3 separate regions of the Homo sapiens genome follow, and all the other regions are linked to region 1. Evidence: promoter capture Hi-C in 16 types of primary human blood cells and fetal thymus (Javierre and others, 2016). All regions are on one chromosome and are shown on one strand. The core of a region is centred on a gene start or on the middle of the fragment in contact, and the rest is flanking DNA. Distances in the headings are between cores, read along the strand shown. Region 1 holds the start of LINC03030 (long intergenic non-protein coding RNA 3030). Region 2 holds the start of GDPD4 (glycerophosphodiester phosphodiesterase domain containing 4). Region 3 overlaps GDPD4 (glycerophosphodiester phosphodiesterase domain containing 4).

Evidence for each region. Contacts are between HindIII fragments. The CHiCAGO score rates a contact against its expected background, and 5 or more counts as called.
Region 2: the fragment with the promoter of GDPD4 here is called in contact with the fragment with the promoter of LINC03030 in region 1 in 4 of 17 cell types (neutrophils, M2 macrophages, M0 macrophages and 1 more); the score reaches 7.2 in neutrophils.
Region 3: a fragment that was not itself captured here is called in contact with the fragment with the promoter of LINC03030 in region 1 in 1 of 17 cell types (M2 macrophages); the score reaches 6.5 in M2 macrophages.

What each region holds. Positions count from the first base shown.
Region 1 is chr11:77,569,709-77,572,408 of GRCh38, reverse strand. LINC03030 (long intergenic non-protein coding RNA 3030) reads right to left here and starts at 1,320. Exons shown (of 3, transcript NR_130930.1): 1 at 1,099-1,320; 2 at 724-894. The HindIII fragment of the contact is 9,547 bases long and covers 149-2,700 here.
Region 2 is chr11:77,300,301-77,303,000 of GRCh38, reverse strand. It overlaps GDPD4 (glycerophosphodiester phosphodiesterase domain containing 4), which reads left to right and starts at 1,315. Exons shown (of 17, transcript NM_182833.3): 1 at 1,315-1,396. The HindIII fragment of the contact is 12,830 bases long and covers 1-2,700 here.
Region 3 is chr11:77,256,021-77,258,720 of GRCh38, reverse strand. It overlaps GDPD4 (glycerophosphodiester phosphodiesterase domain containing 4), which reads left to right. Exons shown (of 17, transcript NM_182833.3): 11 at 179-335. Among named protein-coding and RNA genes, the nearest start is that of GDPD4, 44 kb to the left of the region's middle. The HindIII fragment of the contact is 1,295 bases long and covers 609-1,903 here.

The DNA.
Region 1 (2,700 bases), core at 71-2,570:
ATTTTTAGGGGCAGCAGGAATTTGCCCCATCTGGATTCCAAATCTTTCCTTGATGGCTGTGCCGTTATATGAAGCCACAAAAGGAGGACAAAAAAACCCTCCTTTGGGAGACTAATCAGAAAATGCATTCCAACAAATCAAGGAAGCTTTAACTTAGGCCCTAGCCTTAGGACTACCAGATATAACTAAGCCTTTCTATATGTTCATGAACAAAAAGGAATGGCTATAGGAGTTCTGACTCAAGTTGTAAGGTCATAACATCACCCAGTAACATACTGATCCAAACAATTGGATTCTGTGATGCTAGGATGGCCTCCCTGTGTTAAGGCATTAGCCGCCACCACCTTGCTAAACACAAGAGGCTAGCAAATTGACTCTAAGACAGCAGTTAACCATTCGGGAGCCACACTCAGTCATAACTCTGATGGACCGACTCCCAGTTCCTGTGTACCTAATTGGGGTGACGAGCCACTATCACCATCTCCAGTTTCCTTAGTTGGGGTGGCAAGCCATTCTCGCCACCTCCAGTTTCCTTTTCCTAACCAACTTAGTGAGCCACTCTTGCTTCCTGTGTTGATTGGGGTGAGAGTTTCATCCAAATTGACAGCCGCTCTCATCGCCCCCAGTCCCTCTGGGTCGGACTATTAGGCATACCCCGGGAGGTGATCAGGCTCCCTTTCCGTCCTTACAGGATGGGTCCTGCCTTGGGCCCCAAAACCTTACCATGATTCCTGAAGTGCGCTGTTTCTAGAATCATCCTGTAGCTCCTCTCAGGATCTGTTGCGCTGCTGGGTAGGGGTGCTGGGTCACGGAGAGCTGATTTCCCCTCTGGGCTGAAGTTCTCCCGGCGGCACCTGGGGTCACAGGTCTCCCTTGGCCCAGGGCTCCAGCCCCCTATAGGCAAAGGAGACAGTAAGCCTGTCATCTCCACTCCTGGCTGGCTTGCCAAGAAATGTTGCAGGAAACTGAGGAATGGCGAGACCAATATGAGAGTACAGGAAGATATTTATTTTTAGGTACGCACTGGCTGAGTGGATTTATATCCAAAAACCTGAGCATTAAACAAAGACAGAGCAGGGTTTTTATAAGTGGACTTACAAAAGTAAAACAAAAGCAGTTAATCATATAGTGCATAACTTGTGGCCTTGCATAGCTGGTGGCCTTGGAGCTGTGTCAAAAGAAAATCAAGAACTGGCTAAATACAGACATTTGTAAAACATAATCATGCTTAAGAAGCCAGGGAAAGAAGTAACAGTAAAGGAATTTGTCTTTCTCTTTTTTTTTTTCCTTCAACCTTGTTCTGGAGGGGAGGGATGTCTGCAGCCCATTCCTTTGGCCTTGGCTTCTCAAACAGCATTATCTTATAACTGTCCTTGAAGTGAGCTTGCTAGGCCGAGGAAAACTTGTTCTTTTCTTTTTAACCCTTGCCTTGCCTGTTACTTTTCTTGGAGTGAATGAATGCATATTTATTTTTAAATTTCTGCCTCAATCTCAGCACTTTGGGAGGCTAAGGTGGGTGGATCACGAAGTCAGGAGATTGAGACCAGCCTGGCCAACATGGTGAAACTCTGTCTCTACTAAAAATACATAAGTTAGCCAGGCGCGGTGGCACCCTCCTGTAGTCCCAGCTACTTGGGGGGCTGAGGCAGGGGAATTGCTTGAACCTGGGAGGTGGAGGTTGCAGTGAGCCGAGACTGTGCCACTACACTCCAGCCTGGCAACAGAGGAAGACTCCGCCTCAAAAAAAAAAAAAAGAAAAGAAAATGGTTAAAATGGAAATTGTTATGTTTATTTTACCACAGTTTTTTTTTTTTTTTTAAAGAAATGAGCTATCAAGCAAAGCAAAGACATGGATAAATGTTGAATGTATATCAGTAAGTCAAAGAAGCAAGTCTGATGGCTTTTTACTATATAATTCTTTTTTTTTTTTTTTTTTTGAGACGGAGTCTGGCTCTGTTGCCAGGCTGGAGTGCAGTGGCATGATCTCGGCTCACTGCAACCTCCACCTCCTGGGTTCGAGCGGTTCTCCTGCCTCAGGCTCCCGAGTAGCTGGGACTACAGGGGCCTGCCACCATGCCTGGCTAACTTTTGTATTTTTAGCAGAGACGGCGTTTCACCATGTTAGCCAGTATTGTCTCGATCTCTTGACCTCGTGATCCACCCGCCTCAGCCTCCGAAAGTGCTAGTATTGCAGGTGTGAGCCACCGTGCCTGGCCGTGATTCTACTTATATACATTATGAAAGGTAAAACTACAGAGATGAAAAACAAGTTGGTAGGAATTCAGTAAGGAGGATTGAATAGGTAAATCACAGGACATTTTAGGATGGTGACATTATTTTGTGTAATACCATAATGATAGTGACATGATACATGACACCTTGCATTTGTCAGAACCCTTAGAACCTAAAGTATGCAAATTTAAAAAAATCATTTAGGAGCTCAGATAGATGATCCCAAGATGAAATAAAGAACGTGACAAAATAATCTAACTGTATTATGAACAAAACTCAATGAAGGAAATGGGAGAAAATTGCTGACCTAAGTAACTTTGGAAATGGGTGGATCCTGTAAAACTCAATGCAAAAGGAGTACAGACTAGGGAGCAATATGGCCAAGTAGAGGCCTCCAGAAATTGTCCTCCCTGCAGGAACACCAAATCGAACAACTATTCACACAAAAAACACCTTCATTACAACCAA
Region 2 (2,700 bases), core at 66-2,565, 270 kb after region 1:
AATGAATTTAAGTTAGGGTTTACTGAGTTTGAGGTGTCTGCAGCAGGACGGCCAGATTGAAGGCCAGTGGCTGGCAGTTGGAGATAAAGGTCTAGAGCTCAGGAACGAGGTCAGAGTCAGAGAAATGGCTAGAGGAATCAAAGATTAAACAAACAAAAGCGAAAACAGGCCCATTTGTGGCCCTTTGAGTGGTTGAAACTGGTTTAAAAAAGGTAAGGCAAAGTGGGGATGGTTACTGGGTACAACAGATATATAGTTAGAATAAATAGGATCTAATATTTGACAGCACAACAAGGCGACTACAGTCAGCAATTATTTATTGAACATTTTTAAAAATAACTAAGAGTGTAACTGGAACGTTCATAACCCAAAGAAATGATAAATGCTTAGGTGATGGATACTCAGTGTACCTGATGTGATTCTTTTTTTTTTTTAGATGGAGTTTCACTCTTGTTGCCCAGGTTGGAGTGCAGTGGTGCTATCTCGGCTCACTACAACCTCTGCCTCCCAGGTTCAAGTGATTCTCCTGCCTCAGCCTCCTGAGTAGCTGGGATTACAGGAATCCACCACTGTGCCCGGCTAATTTTTTTGTATTTTAGTAGAGACAGGGTTTCATCATGTTGGCCTGGCTGGTCTCGAACTCCTGACCTCAGGTGATCCACCTGCCTCGGCCTCCCAAACTGCTGGGATTACAGGCGTGAGCCACTGTGCCTGGCCTCCTGATGTGATTCTTACACATTGTATACCTTTATCAGAATATCTCATGTATTCCTACTATGAGTTGTATAAATAATACACTTATTATGTACCCATAAAAATTAAAAATTTGTTTTAAAAAGGCAGAAAAAATAGTTAAAAATAAAATAAAATAAAGAGGTAGCCTGGGCGTGGTGGCTGGGGGGCACAGGGCTGTAGTCCCAGCTACTCTTCAGGCTGAGGCAGGAGGCTGCTTGAGCCCAAGTTTGAGGCCCAGACTGGGCGACAAGACCCCGTCTCTTAAAAAATATATAAATATATAGATAGATGTATATATATATATGGCAATTTTATGAATAACTGGGATACAAAAAATTGGTAATGCTTGAACTAAGTTATTAACAAGGACTAAACTTAAACAGTCAAGTTCTTTTTGTAAGAACCAAACCAAACCAAAAACAAAGAGAGCATACCTTACCGGACATTTAAAAGGTGGGGCTCTGAGCCAAGGCTGGGGGTCTGGCCTTAGCTTCAGCCTTGCTCTGGCACGGGGTGTCCTTGACCACGCCCACAGCCCCGCCAGGCCGCCCCCTCCCGCCCCGCCTCCCTCGGGCTGCCCTTCCAGCCAGGCGTCCATCTTAAGAGACGCTGGTCTCCTCAGGCGTGAAGATTGGATTTGGGTTGGGACTGGGAAGTCTCGGTAAGTAAATGTGCCCAGTTCCGTGCTTCCTCCCTAAGCAGCACCAGAAGCAGGAAGTTCTATTAGTATTATTAGTCGGCGGCCAAACTTGAGGCCCTTTGACGTTGTTCGCTCACTCTGTCGGGTCGTTTGTGTCCCCTCTCGAGGATTACGGGCCTGGACCTCCTGTTCAGTATCTGACAGTAGCGGCTTCGTGTATTTTCTAGTTTTCTAGTTGTTAATGGCGAAGGGGATAAAAATCAGCTTCGACTATGCCAATCCTGGGCGGCAACCCTTGGGTTTTGATCTCATGAGCTGGGGAATGGCGGTGACCTTTACTGAGATGGGACAGATTGCAGGAGGAATCGATTTTAGAGGGAAAAAACATCAGGGGTTCAGTTTTGGACATATTACTTTTGAGGTGCCTGTGAGAAATCCAAATGGAGATTTCAGTAGCCTGTCGGATATATGAGTGTAGAATTCAGAGAAGAGCTCTGGGAAGGAAACAGTGTTTCTCGATCTCCCCTTAAATATTAGGAATTTTCATGTAAACGTGGCTACGCTGGCTGGTGCTTAGACACAAAGTATCTGCAGGTGTGTAGACAATGGTGGTGGTAATTATTCTGGTTAAAAAGCTGCCTTTTATTCGATATCCAAGCAGCTTACCATCCTCCCATAGAGCTTTTTGTTCATAACGTCTGCCCTTGGACACCCCAGTATTTGCAATTAGTCACACCAAGTTCTATATATATGCAGTAGTTTCATCATTAACCAACTGAAAGTTTTTTTCTCATTTCCATTGTGATTTTTCTTTGACCATGCGTAGGTTTCTGTGTGTTTAATTCCCAAATGTGCAATTTGTTTTTCTTACTGATTTCCAGTTAAATTGCACTGTAGTCAGAAGATATATTCTTAAGATGTCAAGGTTTATTAAAACCAATTGTGATTTTTGATAAATATTCCATGTCCATTTTAAAGTACACTCTGCATTTGTTGAGTACAGTGTTCTATAAATGTTAAGACTAGTTAATCAACTTTTACAGTCGTCTATATCCTTACAGACTTTTTTTCTGCTTATTCTGTTTTTTTTTTAAGAGGTGTGTTAAATCTCCTACCATGATTATGCATTTGTCCATTTCTCCCTTAGAGACTAGGTGATTGGGTACTGTTATAGTTTCGGTGCCGCAAAAGAAATAGCACTCAAATATAAAATTTTCTTTTTAATTCTTAGCAAGGCAATATACTTCTATAGAAGGGTGCACCCTTACATATGGAGCAATGGTGAGCACACACTTGGACAAGGGAGGGGAAGGGGTTCTTATTCC
Region 3 (2,700 bases), core at 7-2,506, 310 kb after region 1:
GAAAAATATTGACATCAAAGTGTAAATGACTGATATGTAGCCCTTTTCTAAGATTTGAGAGGGAGTAAGGAGCCCTAGTGACACTTGTGACCTTGAAGGACTGTCTGGGGAGCCTGTCTACCAAGGTAGCTAAATTCAGCCTATCTACCCCTGCCCTTCTTTTCTACCTCTGCCTCAGTTATGATCATGTGCCTTTCCTCATGCATGACTTTGACCTGAAAAGAACAACCAATATTGGGGAAGTTCAGCCAGAATCTGCCTGCGAGAACCCTGCCTTCTTCAACTGGGATTTCCTATCGACTCTGAATGCAGGCAAATGGTTTGTAAAACCAGAGGTAAGACACATTCCCAAGTTCCACAAACCTGCATTGAATTTTTGTAAGAGATCATGTGCTGCTCCTGAAAATAAAGGCCATAGATGAAGATAGGCAAGTATCCACACGATTTCATCCCAGTTTGGTAGCAGGACTATAGTATTGGCAGGAGGGCTTTTTCAGTAATGAAGTGAGTCTAATTGCTGCTTTCTACATTCACTAGAAAGTCTGAAGACAAACTTGTAAACTTACCCTTATCTTGTAATTTCTTTTTACCCAAATATTTCATAAGCTTTTACAGTATGGCTAACATGTACATAACATTTTCCTAGATGAGGCAGACTAGGACATATATTTTTGATTTTTTCTGCTTGCCATTCAACAAATATTTATTGAGCACCTAATGGTACAAGGCACATGGAATATAATGGTGAATAAACACACATCCAGCCTTAATGGAATTCACAGGCTAGTATAAGAAACAGACAGTTACTGTACATTGTGATAAGAGCAAAACGAGTTAATTTCAGGTTGCTTCAGGAGCACACAAGAACAACTTCTAACTCAGACTGAGGAATGTAGATGGGAGATTCTGGAAGGAGATGTATAGACTAATAATGGATGTGGTACAGTATAAAGCACGTGCTGTGCAGTGTACAGTGTAATTTTGAGGCAAGTATGAATGGTTCCTCTGGAAGAAGTTGGGGAATACTTTATGCACAGCTACCATTTGAGCTGAGGGAAGATCATTACCAAGGGGAAGCAAGGGCAGTAATGATGATGTGTTTCAGAGATTATCCTGGAGCAACAGGGTGTGTGTGTGTGTGTGTGTGTGTGTGTGTGTGTGTGTGTGTAGGAGAGGGAGGGAGGGATAGAGGAAAGAAGAGAGGAAGGAAGAGGGGTAGGAAGTAGATGAGCGATAGATTGGGAGAATAATCTGGAAAACATGTTGATCGGAGATTATGGCAATGCTTACATAACAAGTTAAAGAGTTTAGAATTATCCTTGAGTGTTTTTAAGTGGGTAAAAAGTCAGAATTGCATTTGATAAAGGTCAAGCCTACTTTCTCAAGATAGATTAAAGAAAACAAAACAACCTACGTTTTCTAGCTTATTTTATGACTAGGAATTCATGTGACCTAGGTTCTGACCAATCAGCTATACTCATTTGAGACTTTGATTTTGAAAATAAACATCTCAACAAGATAGATAGCATGCATCCATATTGCTAGCACATGTGACAGCAGAGATAGCAAGGTGTGAGGGTCAGCTGTGGTAATAGCTCACTTATACGGTAGTAGTGTAATTAGGAAAAGAAAAGGGATTTTTGATTGTGTACTGGTGGAATGGAATTTTATTTATGTTTGATGTTAATCCTGAGGGCCGTTTGATCATGTTTCATGTAAAAATAGGGAAAAGTGAAGAATTATGTACAGATGGACTTACCTACTGTGTTTGTCCATTTTGTTTTGCTATAAAGGAATACCTGAGACTGGGTAATTTAAAAAGAAAAGAGGTTTATTTGACTCATGGTTCTACATGCTCTACAAGCATGATACCAGCATCTGCTCGGCTTCTGGTGAGGAAGCTTTTACTCATGGCAGAAGATGAAGGGGGAGCAAGGCATGTCATATGGCGAGAGAGGGAGCAAGAAAGAGAGAAGGAGGTACCAGGCTCTTTTCAACAACCAGCTCTTGCTTGAACTAATAGAATGAGAATTCACTCATTACTAAGGGGAGGCCACCAAATCATTCATAAGGGATCTGCCCCCATGACCCAAATGCCTCTCACTAGGCCTCACTTCCAACATTGGAGGTCACATTTCAACATAAGATTAGGAGGAGACACATATCCAAACTGTATCATCTACTGAGACTCCACTTCAGATTCATTGTATTAATTAGTATTGATATAAGAAATAGCTGAAAGTGGATTTGTTATTACTGTAGTTACTCAGAATATTTGTCCTCATAGGAGTACATAGTCTATCCATGCTATTTCCATATATGAAAATAATGTGATTACTCTGATATTCTAGGTTTCTGAGTATATGTAGCGTCTGCAATATGTCTCATATATAGACACATAAAAACTAGAGGTGCTCCATTAGGATGTATATATTGAATTAGTTAGCTATAGTTAATATTTTGGCAAAGGTGTGTTCTAGATGAAAAGCCTATTATTGTATCTGATGTATAATATAAGGCTGATAAAAGTCTTATTAGGATTTACAGAATTAAACTTACTCCTAAAATTGAGCCAAAGTTTCATCAGGCTGAGATGTTTGATGGAACAGTAGAGTTGATGAATTTTAATTAATGGATGCTTTTTCTTGGTCGTTATTGGAACTTAGTGGTCCTTATTGCTGAAAGACAACAGTTGTTTCT